Linked DNA regions of Homo sapiens: all the other regions are linked to region 4. The links are contacts of gene promoters, found by promoter capture Hi-C in blood cells and fetal thymus (Javierre and others, 2016). All regions are on one chromosome and are shown on one strand. The core of a region is centred on a gene start or on the middle of the fragment in contact, and the rest is flanking DNA. Distances in the headings are between cores, read along the strand shown.

The links. The method cuts DNA at HindIII sites, captures the fragments that hold promoters and counts their contacts. A CHiCAGO score of 5 or more calls a contact.
Region 1: a contact is called between a fragment that was not itself captured here and the fragment with the promoter of ZNF92 in region 4, in 4 of 17 cell types (M0 macrophages, neutrophils, monocytes and 1 more). The highest score is 6.7, in M0 macrophages.
Region 2: a contact is called between a fragment that was not itself captured here and the fragment with the promoter of ZNF92 in region 4, in 2 of 17 cell types (neutrophils and total CD4 T cells). The highest score is 6.7, in neutrophils.
Region 3: a contact is called between a fragment that was not itself captured here and the fragment with the promoter of ZNF92 in region 4, in 2 of 17 cell types (M2 macrophages and M1 macrophages). The highest score is 6.4, in M2 macrophages.

Annotation. Positions count from the first base shown.
Region 1 is chr7:64,896,411-64,900,636 of GRCh38, reverse strand. It overlaps a transcript of ZNF273 not described here. Among named protein-coding and RNA genes, the nearest start is that of ZNF273, 4.7 kb to the left of the region's middle. The HindIII fragment of the contact is 4,529 bases long and covers 116-4,226 here.
Region 2 is chr7:64,880,165-64,884,392 of GRCh38, reverse strand. It overlaps a transcript of ZNF273 not described here. Among named protein-coding and RNA genes, the nearest start is that of ZNF273, 21 kb to the left of the region's middle. The HindIII fragment of the contact is 7,133 bases long and covers 1-4,228 here.
Region 3 is chr7:64,929,020-64,933,143 of GRCh38, reverse strand. It overlaps ZNF273 (zinc finger protein 273), which reads right to left. Exons shown (of 4, transcript NM_021148.3): 4 at 2,163-4,124. The coding sequence ends at 4,106. Among named protein-coding and RNA genes, the nearest start is that of ZNF273, 28 kb to the right of the region's middle. The HindIII fragment of the contact is 4,652 bases long and covers 1-4,124 here.
Region 4 is chr7:65,372,377-65,376,556 of GRCh38, reverse strand. ZNF92 (zinc finger protein 92) reads right to left here and starts at 2,702. Exons shown (of 4, transcript NM_152626.4): 1 at 2,557-2,702. The coding sequence starts at 2,559. RefSeq lists an enhancer at 2,272-2,671 and a silencer at 2,567-2,837. The HindIII fragment of the contact is 7,156 bases long and covers 1,108-4,180 here.

The sequences.
Region 1 (4,226 bases), core at 1,131-3,630, 480 kb after region 4:
GCCTGGCCAGCAGCCATGTTGCCTATTTCTTTAACGTTCAATGGTGAGGAAAGGGAGGATGGAGCCTCCATGTTGAACACACCTGGCTAGCTGCTGGCATTCACTAGTGCAAGCTTCCGGTTTGCTTATCCATGTTTGCTGCTCGATTTTTCAGGCTGCTTTTGGTTAAAAGGGAAACCTTGCCAGGGACTCTTTTACCCTCGCTATCTGCCTAAACAATTTCTTTCTATCTCCTGTACCACTTGCATTTTGGGAGTTCAAGGTGGATGGATCACTTGAGCCCAGGAGTTTGAAACCAGCCTGGGCAACATGACAAAACACCATCTCTACTAAAAGTACAAAAATTGCCCGGCATGGTGGCACAAGGCTGTATTCCCAGCTACTCAGGAGTCTGAGGTGGGAGGATTACTTCAGCCTTGAAAATGGAGGTGGCAGTGAGCCGAGATTACACAACTGCACTCCAGCCTGGGTGACAGAGCGAGACTTGGTCTCAAAACAAACAAACAAAAAAAAAAAAAGAGAGAGAAAAGAAAAAGCATAAAGCATACCTAATCATTTGTTATCACAGTTAAATCCCTTGAAACCAGGCAGGGTGTGGTGGCTCATCCCAGCACTTTGGGAGGCCGAGGCAGGCGGATCCCATGAGGTTGGGAGTTCGAGACCAGCCTGACCAACATGGAGAAACCCCGTCTCTACTAAAAATACAAAATTAGCCAGGCTTGGTGGCGCATGCCTGTAATCCCAGCTACTTAGGAGGCTGAGGCAGGAGAATCACTTGAAACCGGGAGGCAGAGGTTGCTGTGAGCCAAGATCACGCCATTGCACTCCAGCCCGGGCAACAAGAGCAAAACTCTGTCTCAAAAAAAAAAAAAAAACCTTGAAATTACAATGAACTTCTGCTAATTTTAGAGAATTCTGCTATACTGTACTACAATACTGAACTTTAAACAACTTAATAGAAATATTTTTTCTTTTTTTTTTTTGAGATGGAGTCTCATTTTATCTCCATCTGGAGTGCAGTGGCAAGATCTTGGCTCTACTTCAACATTTGTCTCCCAGTTTCAAGTGATTCTCTTGCCTCAGCCTTCCAAATAGCTGGGATTACAGGTATACACCACCACACCTGGCTAATTCTTGTGTTTTTAGTAGAAATGGGGTTTCACCATGTTGGCAAGGCCGGTCTGGGACTCCTGACCTCAAGTGATCCACTCACCTTGGCCTCCCAAAATGTCGGGATTACAGGCGTGAGCCACTGCGCCTGGCATAATATTTCCTGAAGGCATAAATAGTTATGTAGATAGTTTCTCTTAGATTAACATGATAAAAGTAACAAAGACAACATTTTAAATGGGATAAAATTAACCAAAATCACATTTTTTTTCAATGGCTTGGCATAATTGCCATGTTTTCTGAAATGACAGATTACTAACAAGAAGCAAAGACAAGATTTTTGCTTTGCTCAATTGTTAAGTTTTGGACCTTTTGAAATTTAAAATTCTGGCTAAACAATTTGAAGGGAGAATTCTTTAGGTGGCTTCCTAGGGTTTCCAAGGCAATACAAGAATTTTCATAGGCAGGAAAATGCATGTTATATACACATATTGTTCTTCTCTGCTTTGCTTTCATGTTTAAAAATTGAAAATTGCAAATCTAGTCTCTCAATTTAGAGTAAGTTAACAAAAGATTTATTTTTCAGCAAAGCAAATAATTGTAGAAAACTTATGGGGAACAAATGCCATTAGCTGCCAAAAACAGTATGACCGGATTCAGTAAGTATCTAGCCATGCAAATGACAGCCCAGTTAAATTAAGACCCCAAAGGTGCATGTGGACAGCATTTCCATGCAATGTGGTGCACCTCCACTGGGCACCTTCTTCTGCCTGCTTACAGAGATACCAATTTCCCCTAAGTGACTCAATGTGAATACTGGAAACTGAGAATGCTGTGTTCAGAGGGATTACTAGGAACATGGTTAACACACTTACCATATTATAATAAAATTTGATGTATCCTACTCTACCTCACAAAGGCTTTTAGTAAAAGATTGTTTATTTATAGTACTCAATATGGATTTATGAAAAATTATAATATATTCCAGGAAAGTCAGAGACACTTAAATGTCAACCAAATTCCATAAAACACACTTGAATGAGACAAAGTCTTCTTAGCTAAAAATGTTATCAGTAAATTTAGGATAAAATAGAAAACCAGTTCTTTGTGTTAAATGAACAGCGTTTGGCACGCGAGTACTACTCAAACGAAGAACACTCAAACGAGTGTTCTTCACTGTCATCATTAAAATGGCAATAACAACACGTGCTTTCCTGGCACCAGCTGGCTTGCTTTCCATTGGTGTTAAGTGAAGAAGGTGTTGAAATAGAGAAGAAAGGTGATATAAATTGAATACTTATATAAAATACTATTTTTAATAAAAAGTAGCATTTGATGTACAACTACAGGTAAGACTTGTATGAAGTAATAATGTTATTCTATTGACAGAATAACTTTATTCACAATATTCTTATTTCAAACAATATCCCTTTTTTGGCTAAATATATGCCAGCCTTTTGGTGAAATATTACCTGAGCTCAAGAGAAATCAGCAAAATGAGGCCGGGTGCGGTGGCTCACGCCTGTAATACCAGCACTTTGGGAGGCCGAGGCGGGAGGATTACGAGGTCAGGAGATCGAGACCATCCTGGCTAACACGGTGAAACCCTGTCTCTACTAAAAAATACAAAAAATTAGCCGGGCGTGGTGGCAGGCGCCTGTAGTCCCAGCTACTCGGGAGGCTGAGACGGGAGACTGAGACGGGAGACTGGCGTGAACCCAGGAGGCAGAGCTTGCAGTGAGCAGAGACCGTGCCACTGCACTCCAGACTGGGCGACAGAGCAAGACTCCGTCTCAGAAAAAAAAAAAAAAAAAGAAATCAACAAAATGAACCTTTATTTTACCAGAAGCATTTTACTATTGATGCGTATGCTTATTTTGCTTAAAACACATCAGCTTTTTGGCTGGGCACGGTGGCTCATGCCTGTAATCCCAGCACTTTGGGAGGCCGAGGCGGGTGGATCACGAGCTCAGGAGATCGAGACCATGCTGGCCAGCACAGTGAAACCCCGTCTCTACTAAAAATACAAAAAATTAGCTGGGTGTGGTGGCGGGCGCCTGTAGTCCCAGCTACTCGGGAGGCTGAGGCAGGAGAATGGCGTGAAACTGGGAGGCAGAGCTTGAAGTGAGCTGAGATTGCGCCACTGCACTCCAGTCTGGGCGACAGAGCAAGATTCCGTCTGAAAACAAACAAACAAACAAAAACATTAGCTTTTTATGAGAGACACACTTTTCTTTCAGTGATTTCTATACTGCTGAGAAGTGGTTGTTCTACCAGGAAACTGCTATTCTCAGCTCTACCAACATTAAGTTTTGACTCCTCAGCATATAATTCCATTCCCTGGTGAATCAAAACTGAGAGAAGAATAAATTACATGTTAAGGTAAGAGACATAGGGAAGACCCATTACTTTTGACCCACATCTCCTCCACCCCCAGCCCCAGGCAATCATCATTCTACTCTCTGCTTCTATAGTTTTTGTGCTGACTTATTTTACTTAGCATAATGTCCTCCAGGTTCATTGATGTTGTTGCAAATAACAAGAGTTGCTTCTTTTGAAGGGCTGAATAGCATTCCATTGTGTAAATATACCACATTTTCTATATTTATTCACCTGTTAATTAACACTTAGTTTGATTCCATACCTTAGGAGTAATTGTGAGGAATCCACTTCCCCTTTTTTTCATTTGCTTTTACCTCTTTTTATTTTTATTTCTAGAAGCATTTTAATTTAATACTATAACTTATGATTGTTACATAGATCATCTGAGCTTGATTTGGGTCATGAGCTATGAGCCCAGATTTACATCCTTGGAGCTGCGATCTGCATTATTAATAAAAGATACTATTTTTCCAAGGGCTGTTTTAATTTATACATAGTAGCTATAAGCATTTTTCACTGAAAAGCTCTTCTAAATATATTATAGTAAATATTTAAGAATAAGAATAAAATCATTTATATTTCAAAGATTTTCTTATACTTGACTGGGTATATTTTGTCATATTTAATGTATTTATTCTTTCTGAAAAATGCCAAAATAAGAATTTTATTATTTTTCCTGGAATAACAGACTGGGTTTCTGTATTGTGTCTTTGCTAATTTTTGCATATAGATTT
Region 2 (4,228 bases), core at 963-3,462, 490 kb after region 4:
CACTGTGGATCCCCCATGAAAGCAAAGGGAAATAAAGGCTCAAATGGGAGAATGAGAGGGTTTGTGCTGGAGTCAAACCCATGTTCATGGATTCTTGCCAGAAACCCAAGAGACTCCTGTAAAGTGCAAAAAATCCGGCCCCCCAAAATGAGACGACTACCCACAACCTGGAGTGCAGCCAAACTACTGAAAAACCCTTGAGATCCCTAAAATCCCTGGCAAGCAAAAGATCTGTGGTGAGAGGCACTCACATACAGCAACAGCCCAAAGACCAACGAAATCCACAATGAGAAAAGACGTGCAGATGAAATGAAAAAGAGCCTAGAATATTAGGCAAAAGCCAGACTTGGCAGCCTAGGTCCCATCATATAGGAATCATGCTGCAATCCTATAGAAGTGGGAGAACAAGAGTTTCGTTGTTGGCGGATGTAACAGGAATTTACTGTTCCAAAAGTATCACAGCTGCCTAGTCCGCAAAACGTGACAGTGTTTAGACGGAAACACTCATACAATGGTCCCCATGAGGGTCGTCCTCTGTGAACAAGGAAAGGTTTACTGTAGAAGCCTTTGAGCCAGACCAAGGAAACTCTAGGCCCACGAGAAAAATGGAAGTCAGGAAAAGAGGAGGCCGGGGTGCAGGACACATCACGCCCAGCCTCAGTCCATTCAAACTTCATGTGGCTCCGGGAATGACAGCCGAAATTGGGAGATGGCCAGAATGGTCAGGGTTTGCTCCAACTATTCCCCGGCACGTTGGAGTCCTCCCACCTGGGCACCGGGCCATGGTGTGGACGGCTTGTGCGACGAAGTGAATGCGGGGGTGAAGTGGGAAGCACCTTCTGTATCATCTGTCCGCACCTGTTTAGCAGATGAAGGTGCGGGACCCCATCCACACCTCACCAGATTGCATCCTTACCCCTATCTGACCTACTTGCTGCTCACACTATCCATTACCGGAATGAAATCCCGAGACGATGGAGGAGTGCCCGCCTCACGACGTGAAGCGCCTGCTCGGCTGGGAACCGAATTCGAGGTGGATTCAAGGAGCCCTGCGCACAGGACTGCTAGGGTCTGGCCCTGGGTTGGCCACCGGAAAAGGAGGCGCTCGGAGGTTTCTCTTCTTGGGTGTGGTGTGCTCCTCTTCTTTCTAGACCAGTTGCTGCTTGGTGAGGGGGGGGTGGTGATTTGGGCTCCTGCGCGTCTCAGCCAGCCCCCCAATTCACCGCGGATTCAGGAACCACGGAAAAAATACAGGACGCGGAGCCCCGCAGCCCAAGCAGAGCCGCACAGAGGCGTACCAGAAGGTCGGGCCACTCGGAAAAAAAAGAAAAAGCGCTGCAGTGCTTGAGCCATATTCCTTTCAGCGGACGCCGCCTTCACGCACACAGACACACACAGAAACACACACACGCGCACACACAGACAGCCGCATACACACTCGGGCAGCCAACACTCGCAACACTCCCGCAGAAACACACAGCCCGGCAGCTTCTGAGGCAGCGCGGTTCTGCTCCGCCGGGAAGCCCCTCCCGGGAGAGGGCAGCCCCGGGGAACACAGGCCTGCTGTAGTCAGAAATCACAGGGGGGCAACGTTTAAGGAGACTCACCCCACTCCGTCTAGGCAGGCCTGACGCCTCCTGCGGATCCTTTTGGATTCTTAGGGATTTCGCGGTGTATCCCTGGGCCTTCCCTTGACGTTTCCTCAGGCTGGCTCGCCCCTGCCCTGTCCTAGATCGTGGGAGTATCCCGAGGATCCCCCCAGAGAAGACAGGCGAGAGCCCAACGCCGACGCCCCCTCTCCGCTAAGCCGCAGGGACTAGTCGCCAGGCAACGAAGGCGTTCACTGTGAAGCAAGCCAGTGCTCGCCGCTGGCGCCTTGTGCCCCGCCACTGGCACATGCGCATTCGTGAGGCTGCCTCGGGCGCCAGGCTGTCGGGGCTGTCAGCCCGCCTAAGCAAGGACAATGGTGCAGGCAGAGACGGCCTGGTCAGGAAAAGGGCTGCCTGCGACTACCATTGCGGGACTATAAAAGTCTCGACCACAGGGCCTCCTGGGGCGTCTCCGTGGTCGGCTCCCCCTGGAGGAGGAGGCGATTGGAGACCGTGAGGTGGGCGCTGAAAGCTGCTCTTGGGACTCCCTTCCCGAAAAAGGCTGTGTGCAGGAATCGGGTCCCAGGGGGTTGGGAATGCAGTCTGGTGAGTTGTTGAGGGGTCTCCGGGTGATGGATTCATACCTGCGACCCCAGAGGAGGGTGTCAGCGGAAGATTGCGGGGCCCTTGAGCTCACGGCCTCCCTTCATCCCGGGCCGTTTAGGGGCTCCCCCTTCTCAGCACCCACGGGCAATCTGGGAGAAGCAGGAACCACGACAAAGGAAAGGACACGGTGGAGAAGAGGTCTCACCCCTGGAACTGGCATCCCACGGGGGCACGTGAGGATCAGAGAGTGTCTCAGAGTCCGTCTACAGCGATTGCAAGACTGAAATGGGTGTCCACGAGTGCTGCTGAGGGGCACTGTGGATCCCCCGTGAAAGCACAAGAAAATCAAGACTCGCCTGGCAGAACTAGAGGGTTTGGGCTGGAGTCCAAGTCAAGCTCACGGATCCTTGCCAGAGGACCCAAGAGCCTCCCGCAGAGTTCAAACAACCCCAGCCCCCACAAAGAGACCACGACCCATGACCTGGAGTGAAGTCAGCCTACTCCAAGTCCCTTGTGCCCCCTGAAGTCCCTGGCAGCCAAGATCTGGGGTGAGAGGAAGTCCCACCCAGCAACAGCCCCCCCACAAGGACAGTGGATGTGCAGATGAAATGAAACAGAGCCTAGATTACCCGGCAAAAGCCAGACACTGTTGCCTGCTTCTCATCCTACAGGAATCATGCAGCCCTCTGATAGAAGTGGGAAAACCAGAGCTTCCTTGTTGGCGGATGTAACGGGAATTTACCCTTCCAAAAGTATCACAGCAGCCTAGTGCTTAAACCGTGACAGTGTTTAGAAGGAAACACTCATTCAATTGTCCCCATGAGGGTCGTCCTCCGTGGACAGGGAATCGTTTCCTGTGGAAGCCTTTGAGCCAGACCCAGGAAACCCTAGGCCCACGAGAAACATGGAAGTCAGGAAAAGAGGAGGCTGGTGTGCCGGCCACATCCCACCCAGCCTCAGTCCATCCCACTCCCCTGTGGCTCCCGGAATGACTGCGGAAATCGGGAGCTGGCCAGAATGGCCTGGGTTTGCACTCCAACTGTTCCCTGGCAGGTTGGAATCCTCCCAGCTGGGCACTGGGCTATGGTTTGGACGGCCTGTGGACGAAGGGAATGCGGGGGTGGATTTGGAAGCACCTTCTGTATCATCTGTCCGCACCTGTTTAGCAGATGAAGGTGCGGGACCCCATCCACACCTCACCAGATTGCATCCTCACCCCATCTGACCTAACTGCAGCTCACACTCTCCGTCCCCGGAATGAAATCCCGAGACGATGGAGGAGTGCCCGCCTCACGACGTGAAGTGCCTGCTCGATTGAGAACCAAAATCGAGGCGGATTCAAGGAGTCCTGGGCACAGGACTGCTGGGGTCTGGCCCTGGGTTGGCCACAGGAAAAGGAGGCACTCGGGGGTTTCTGTTCTTGGGTGTAGTGTGCTCCTCTGCTTTCTAGAAGAGTTGCTGCTTTGCATGGGGATATAATTTGGGGCCCGTCGCATCTCAGCTAGCCCGCCAATTTATAGCGGATTCAGTAACCACAGAAAAAGTAAAGGACACGGAGCCCCGCAGCCCAAGCCCTTTCGCACAGAGAGGCTTCCAGAAGGTGGGGCGACTCGAAAAAAAAAGGGCTGCAGTGCTTCAGCCATATTCCTTTCAGTTGACGCCACATACAGGCACACAGACACACACACACACAGCCGCCATCACACGCGGGCAGCCAACACTCCCAACACTCCCGCAGAAACACCCAGCCCGGCAGTTTCTGAGGCAGCGCGGTTCTGCTTCGCCAGGAAGCCCCTCCTGGGGAGGGCAGCCCCAGGGAATACAAGAGTGCTGTAGTCAGAAATCATAGAAGTGCAACTTTCAAGGAGACTCACCCCCACTCCGTCTAGGCATGCCTGAAGCATCCTGCCGATCTTTTTGGATTCTTAGGGATTTCGCGATGTATCCCTTGGCCTTACCTTGACATTTCCTCAGAATGGTCTGCCTCTATTGTATCCTGGATCGTGGGAGTATCCCATGGATCCCCAGAGAAG
Region 3 (4,124 bases), core at 678-3,177, 440 kb after region 4:
AAAAATTAGCCAGGCGTGGTGGCAGGTGCCTGTAATCCTAGCTACTCAGGAGGCTGAGGCAGGAGAACAGCTTGAACCTGGGAGGCGAAGGTTGCAGTGAGCCGAGATGGCGCCACTGCACTCCAGCTTGGGTGACAAGAGTGAGACTGCATCTAAAAAAGGAATTCCTCCAAATTGTAATATTAATAGGGAAAAGAAATACTATTCCAAATTTCAAGTCAACAGAAGTCATTTTATTATTTTGCAATGTTTTACAGTCACACTTAAAAATAGATTCTGTGTGAAAACGTTACTCCCGCGTTCAAATGATTCTCCTGCCTCAGCCTTCAAAGTAGCTGGGACTACAGATGCACACGACCACAGCTGGCTAATTTTTGTATTTTTAGTAAAGACAGGGTTTCACCATGTTGGCCGGGCTGGTTTCGCACTCCTGGCCTTAAGTAATCCACCCAGCTCAGGCTCCCAAAGTGCTAGGATTACAGGCATGAGCCACCGTGCCGAGTCAGATTTACCATTAGCTCTCTTAAAAATTTAATTTCTGGCCGGGCGCAGTGGCTCGCGCCTGTAATCCCAGCACTCTGGGAGGCGGAGGTGGGCGGATCACCTAAGGTCAGGAGTTCACGACCAGCCTCACCAACATGGAGAAACCCTGTCTACTAAAAATACAAAATTAGCCAGGCGTGGTGGCACATGCCTGTAATCTAAGTTACTAGGGAGGCTGTGACAGGAGAATCAAACCCAGGAGGTGGAGGTTGTGGTGAGCCAAGATCGCGCCATTGCACTCCAGCCTGGGCAACAAGAGTGAAACCTCATCTCTAAATAAATAAATAAATAAATAAATTTCTAACATATTTTCTAGCAAATTTTATATTTGCCACACTTTGTATAAGAATCTAGTAAGATATTTTTTTTTTTTTTTACAAACAGTTAAAAACAATGCTAAGTGATTTAATCCTCTCACCTGTGGACAGCGTATGCCTTTTATCTTAACAATCTGACAGTTATATTGGTAAGCAAACTCACCAATTAAAACCAATTTTTCAGTGCACTAAAAATATCAAATTTCTCATCAAAACTTACTAAATTACCATGTGAAATGACATGGCATAAAGACAACAGCAAGAAAACTGTAGCCATAACACAGAAAAAGAAGAGCTGTGATGCACACATTGTTGGAATACACATAAGACAAACAAAACTGAATATAATTAGAAAATAACCAGCATTTCTCTTTAAATTCGGCAGAATTCAGCTTCGCAGCCTGGAAAAAAAATGTCCTCTCCACATGAAAAATCAATGTTACTGTTTCACCATTGATATATTCCATTTCTGACTTGAAGTTACAAACTAACTTCAACAGGAATATTTATGTCTTACTATGGAGCATCTGTTATAGATCAAGCACTGTCATGTTTGTCTGCTATGTTTATATAGAACAGCATCCTCATGACTCAGGAAGCCTCCCTAGTACTTACCTGAACAAATTCAATAAATAAATAAATTTACTTATGAAAATTATGAAAAGTGAAAGAAAGAATAACTTTAAAAAAGTCGGCTTACATAGGGTTCTCCAATTAAAAGAACAAAGGGCAATGTTTTAACTAAATAAATAAAATATAACTTAATAGACTAATAGTAAAATTACATCTAAAAATTACTTTTTGTGCACTACTAAATTTTATAAAAAAAATAATTGTTGTAATCCCTGACCAGCTCATATAATACTTCATAAACTGTAAAAGAAATTGTAAGAAAAAAGAAATGTATGGCTCTACCATGAGTACCAGGCAAGTAAAAACAGAACATCTGCATGGGGAGATTCTGAACCATAAGCCATAATATTTTACAGTAATGAATTCAGTACAAAGCAGAGAGAGTATAGATTTGCTTTCAGCATTTTTGAGGTTGTTAGTTTTCTAATAAATTAGTCACCTTATTAAAATGATTTGTTTTGTTCCAATATTGCTGTTTTCTTTTGAAAACAGGTACAAACATACTCACACAAGCACACTTACTCTACAATTTTCTTACACTTAAGATTTATCTTTAAAGTAAAATATATGTATATTTAACTCTATGTAAATCAAAACTGAGTCTTTATATGTTTGCAGGCAAAGAGGCCACATGTTAGAAGAAAAATATATAACAAATTTTTAAAAATATTCAGGACTCAGAAATGTATGTATTTTATTCATACTTTTGTAATTTTTATTATGACCATAAAAATAACCCTGTAGTCCATAACAATTTAGTTGTACATTTTAAAATAAAATACAAAGGATAAATGCTAGTAAGGGATACCTCATTTACCCTGATGTGATTATTACATATTATATACCTGTATCAAAACATGCCATATACAGCATAAAAACATACTATGTACCCATGAAAAATAAGAACAATAAATTTAAATAAGAAAAAATATAAATGTAAAACCTATGGGAATATTTAACTTATCTGCAGTTTAAAGCCACTGGCAAAAGAGATTACTAAAAATGTTAGTCCACTATGTAACCAAATAATATATTGCTATCATCTTTTACCTACACCATTGAGTAAGGTGAGGTAGGTTAGTTTGTGGCATAATAACGCTTCACTGAATGCACAAGTCTTAACATGTTAAAACATGTTTAAAAATCTAAGTTCATACATAATCTAAAAATTTTGAAATGTACTGCATTATGAAAAGCACAATTCATAAAATGATATAATTGAATTTTAATATTAAAAATTTTTCACTATAATGCAGAATATTACTCTGAACACCTACCTCATGCATCACTCAATATTATCAGTTAACCACAAGAGCCTCTCTACTTAGATTTTCATCATGCATCTTTCATTTTAATGTTCTTACTCTTCCACAGAAAAGGTCATAAATAATGCCCACCTAATAAAAAAAAAAATCTCATATCTTTGATGCAGCAAGTTGATCACATGCTTTCACATGTGAATACAATAGGAATGAAGAAAAAACATGCGCCGGGTGCAGTGGCTCATGCCTGTAATCCCAACATTTTGGGAGGCCGAGGCGGGCATATCACCTGAGGTTGGGAGTTTGAGACCAGACTGACCAACATGGAGAAACCCTGTCTCTACTAAAACCACAAAAATTAGCCAGGTGTGGCACATGCCTGTAATCCCAGCTACTAGGGAGGCTGAGGCAGGAGAATTGCTTGAATCTGGGAGGCAGAGGTTGCGGTGAGCTGAGATCACGCCATTGCACTCCAGCCTGGGCAACAAGAGTGAAACTCCGTCTCAAAAACAAACAAACAAACAAACAAAAAACCCAAAACCAAAACCAAAAAAAAAAAAACCATGAATTTGAGAGTTGAATTACATTATTCACTTTTCAAAAAACCTGTAATTTTTTCCAAAGAAAAGTGTACTCTGAATGTAAATATACCTCTGCCAAAAACTTGTTCACTATTAGTTATCTACCAACTTTTGTTTTGGATAACTTTCTGTACTCAGCACTCTGATTTTGTGTAATGTCTGAAGTGTCAGTATCTTAGATATCTGTATTGTGAATTCTCTGATATTTATATAAACCTAACTTTGGATCATTTCTTTCATATTTACTGCTGCATTTGCAAAAATATATTTTAGTGTAATTCCTCCCATGTTTTCTAAGCTGTTGTTGAAAAAAATATTTTTCCAAATTCATTACACTCATAGGGTTTTTCTCCAATATAAATTTCCTGGTATTGAACAAAGTTTGAACAACTGCTTCAGGGTTTTTCTCTGGTACAAAATGTGTACAATAAGATCTATGATACAAACAAAGGTACTACAAACCTCTTTGTACTTTTAATGTTTCTCTTCAAAATAAATACTCTGCTGCACTTTGCAGGCTTATATTGTCTGAAAGATCTTTTGACAGTAATTTCATTGATAATGCTTTTATTAAATACCAACTCGCTGATGTTAAGATATGAGCAGATATTAATGACTTTTCCATTCTTTATACAATTTTTCTCAAGTATAAATGCTTTCCTGTGCAATAAGGAAAACTCCACTTCTGGGAGTTTTCTCCAGTATGAATTATCTTATATACAATCAAGTGTGACAACCGCTTAAAGGCTTTGTCACATTCTTCACATTTCTAGGATTTCTCACCCATA
Region 4 (4,180 bases), core at 1,453-3,952:
CAGAATCGCTTGAACCTGGGAGGCAGAGGTCACAGTGAGCTGAGATCACACCACTGCACTCCAGCCTGGGTGACAGAGCAAGAGTCTGTCTCAAGAAACAACAAAAACAAGTGAGAAAATTCCTAAACTCATTCTGGGAAAAACAAAAAAGGTAAAAGAATTTTTAGCAAATGGAATATGTGATTAGATATTAATTTTTTCCTGAAACTCACCTCTTTTATGCCCTTTGTAAATATGTCTTACCTTTCAAGCCCTAATAAAATGAAAGTCAAAATAAGTAAAAAAAAATATTTTCAAGGTGACAAACCCAGGAAGTAGCAGTGCTGATCAGAAAACAGATTTGTCAGCAGGCGTGGTGCCTCACGCCTGTAATCCTAGCACTTTGGGAGGCCAAGGCAGGTGGACTGCCTGAGCTCAGGAGTTTGAGACCAGCCTGGGCAACAGAGTGAAACCCAGTCTCTACTAAAATACAAAACACTAGTCGGGTGTGGTTGTGCGTGCCTGTAATTCCAGCTACTCGGGAGGCTGAGGCAGCAGAATCTCTTGAACCCAGAAGGCAGAGGTTGCAGTGAGCCGAGACCACGCCACTGCACTCCAGCCTGGGCAATAGAGGGAGACTCAATAACCACCCTCTCAGAAGACACTATACCCCAGGTGTATTTTACTTTGCAAGTTCTTGTACCATCTCACTGGGATCAGGTTGTTTTTGTTTGTTTGTTTGAGACGGAGTCTCGAGGCTGGAGTGCAGTGGCATGATCTTGGCTCACTGCAATCTCCCTCTCCCGGGTTCAAGCGATTCCCCTGCCTCAGCCTCCCGAGTAGCTGGGATTACAGGCATGCACCACCATGCCTGGCTAATTTTTTGTATTTTAGTAGAAACCGGCTTTCACCATATTGGCCAGGATGGTCTCGATCTCCAGGTCAGGTTTTGTTGTATCTTTTGGAATACTTTTTTTTTTTCCACAAATCTTAGAGAATCCTGGGGACAGAAATAATTTTGGTGTTTTCCTCCCAGTACCAGCATCTGATTGGCTGACCAGCAATGTTTCTCCAAGAAATGAAAGCTGGGTTGAGTGAAGACAATCTTAATATCTCAAGGGGTAAGCTTTTCAAAGGAAGAGTAGCCCAGGAGATGCTTCTCAGCCCCAGGGCATCCACCTGCTCCCTTGAGAAGCTACATTCCATACTTCAGGTTATTCTACGAGAGAAAATGACCCAGGAGCTGATATTTACTAGACACTCTAGCGACATTGCCATGGTAGGTATCTTGCCCCAGACAGTACTAAAACCCAGGACCAGAAAAAGAACTGAAGGGTGGCTGAGAACACATCACCCCATAAAGTTTCCAAAGGGAAAGCAACCATGACCCAAAAACATTCTGATAAGATCTCTGTGCCTAAGGAAGATAAAAAGAAAAGAGGCACAGAGATTTACAATACAATGTTAGGGGATTATTCTTTGCTTTCTTCTCATAGGAAATATTTACAAACAGGAAACAAATCTTTTAAAACGTGCCATCCAATGCTTTGCCAAAAATGATTAATTAAAATATGCCATCGAAAATGTACACTAAAGGAAACACACTTGCTAATGCGAATTAGGGAGGGTAAGTTGGCATTTGGGAATGTCAGAAGGAACTGGAAATTTAGTATTTTACTGCAAGCCAGAATTAAGCTGGAGGAATGAGGGATGGGGGGTAGACTTGAGACCCTGCTTGGGACACATGTGAAAACTGCAGGGGAAAATCAGTCCCCTGTGGATGTGAAAATAATTAAGTGGCAGGCAATTAGATTGAGGTGGCTCTAGTCCCTGGGTTCCTACTTTAAAAAAAATATAATTCAAATGCATTTTTGGCGGGGGGAGGGGAGGGTAAATAACACCGAGGGAACAAAATTCAGGCTTAACCAACTATAAACTGACAATCTCTGATTACATGACCAGGAAATTTCTACCTTAATCATACAAATTAAAAAACGACGTAACTGTACCTAACCAATTATTAAACTTGTTTTTTTTCATTATGCATCTTATAAAAGTGTTTCCTTCAAGCCCCTCCCACGGACCACAAACTACAAATCATAGCTGGGTGCTCTAAAATTCCTGAATCGCTCTTTGATTAAATTCTTCAATATTTTTACCTTGACTCCCATAAATTTTTAATAGGAAAAAAGAGGACCTGAGAACCACACGGACCAAAGCTCTTCCCATTCATAAACCCCGCACCCCGAGTCAGGATTCTTCTCTTTACTATTCTCCCGTCGTCCCTGCACACTCGGCGAGAGATGCGACGCTGCGGGTGCAGAGCTGCCCAGGGAGGGCTCCAGGCCAAAGCACAGTCACTGCGCAGGGAGGAGACAGGACGCCCGGGGTCCCGGCTGTCAGCCCAGCCGCCATCTTATGGCTGAAGGAGACTGAGGGCCGAGCTGCGCCAAGGAGAACTCGGGCCGCGGATCTCGGAGCCGACTGCGGGAAGGCCCGAGGCCCGCCACAGCCACTTCCAATCGGTTCCAGCCAGACCCTCCCCCTCTCTCGGGATGTGGGACCCAGCAGGCTCACCATTTCTAGGCTTCCAGGGGGTCCTGGCGTCTTAGCTGTGAACCTCCAAGTTCTTGCAGGTAACAGGGTCACAGCGGCGAGCCTTTATCAGCACAGGACGCAGAGCAGTGAAGACTAGACGTGGAGCGCCGGCTGCAGCGAGAGACAAAGGCCCCGCCAAATCCCGGAAGCTGTGCTGTCCGCTCCAGTTGCGTGCCTGATTGGATGGTTCCCAGCCCAGCGTTCCTGATTGGATAACGTTTAAGGCCCCGCCCCTTCGGGCCCTGAGTGACGGGAGATGTGATCAGATGCTGGACTGAAGGAAGAGTGACAGCCTAAGCTGCAGCCTTTTCAGACGGGGCTTCCTCCCTGAGCTGAGTCAGGCCCACCCCAGACAGTATTTGCATTTAACCTTGTGAATAAGGCCATATGCATTTATAAATAGTATATTATATGTCTATTCACAAATGCAAAGAATATAATACCAATTATTCAAAATTTTCAGATTTTATGACCTTCCTGGCTTCTGGTTTTGTTGTTTTGTTTTGTTTTTGGTTTTTGTTTTTTGAGACAGAGTCTAGCTCTGTCGCCAGGCTGGAGTGCAGTGGCACGAGCTCAACTCGCTGCAACCTCCGCCTCCCAGGTTCAAGCGATTCTCCTGTCTCAGCCTCCCGAGGAACTGGGACTACAGGCGCACGCCACCACACCCAGCTAATTTTTGTATTTTTAGTAGAGACGGGGTTTCACCATGTTGGCCAGGATGGTCTTGATCTCTTGATCTTGTGATCCGCCCGCCTCGGTCTCCCAAAGTGCTGGGATTACAGGTGTGAGCCACAGAGCCCGGCCAACTTCTGTTTTTTTAAGCAGGCAGCCTGAAATTTTAAAAAGAAGGCAATCCTCTAAAATAAAATGTGGGCGACACGTGAATTGTACATTTTTTAGCAGCCAAACTTTAAAAAGAAACAAGAAACAGGTGAAATTGATTGTAACAATTTAACCCAATATATCTAAAACCTTATTCTAATATGTGAGTGATATGTAATTATTAATAAAGTATATATATTTATTTGGAACTGAATCTTTGAAATTAACTCTATTTTACCTTTCTAGCACATTGCAATTCAGACCAGCCACATTCCAGGCAGCCAGTAGCTACACATGGCCAATAGCTGCCACATTGAAATGCAGCCCTGACATCAGGAGGGTGAAGGGTCTGAACACCCCTTTTCTGCCAGAAGTGAGGGGACAGCCTCTCTTTACCAACATCTTTCTACAGTTTTGAGGGTGGAACAAGATAGTCACCATAGAAAGAGCAGAGGGCAGCAAGAATAAAATAACCACAGGTACACCACTGCTGGCCACCTGTTGCCCACCTTTCTTCCAGAGATCAGACAGTAACCAAAAGATGATGGGGCCACAGGAGATTAAACGCTATGTCTTCAGATCTCTCCACAGTCATCACTTCCAGTGTTTAAGTATAGAGAAAACAGATTAAAGGTAAACTTATTTTGCTATTTGGCCTGGCCCTAGTGGCCAGAGTGTGTTTATCTGTTTTCTCCTGTGGCGTGGGGATTGTGTGAGTACAAGTACCAATCCCATGCAAACATGCCTACATATTTTTCTGCATTACTCAATATTATCTTAC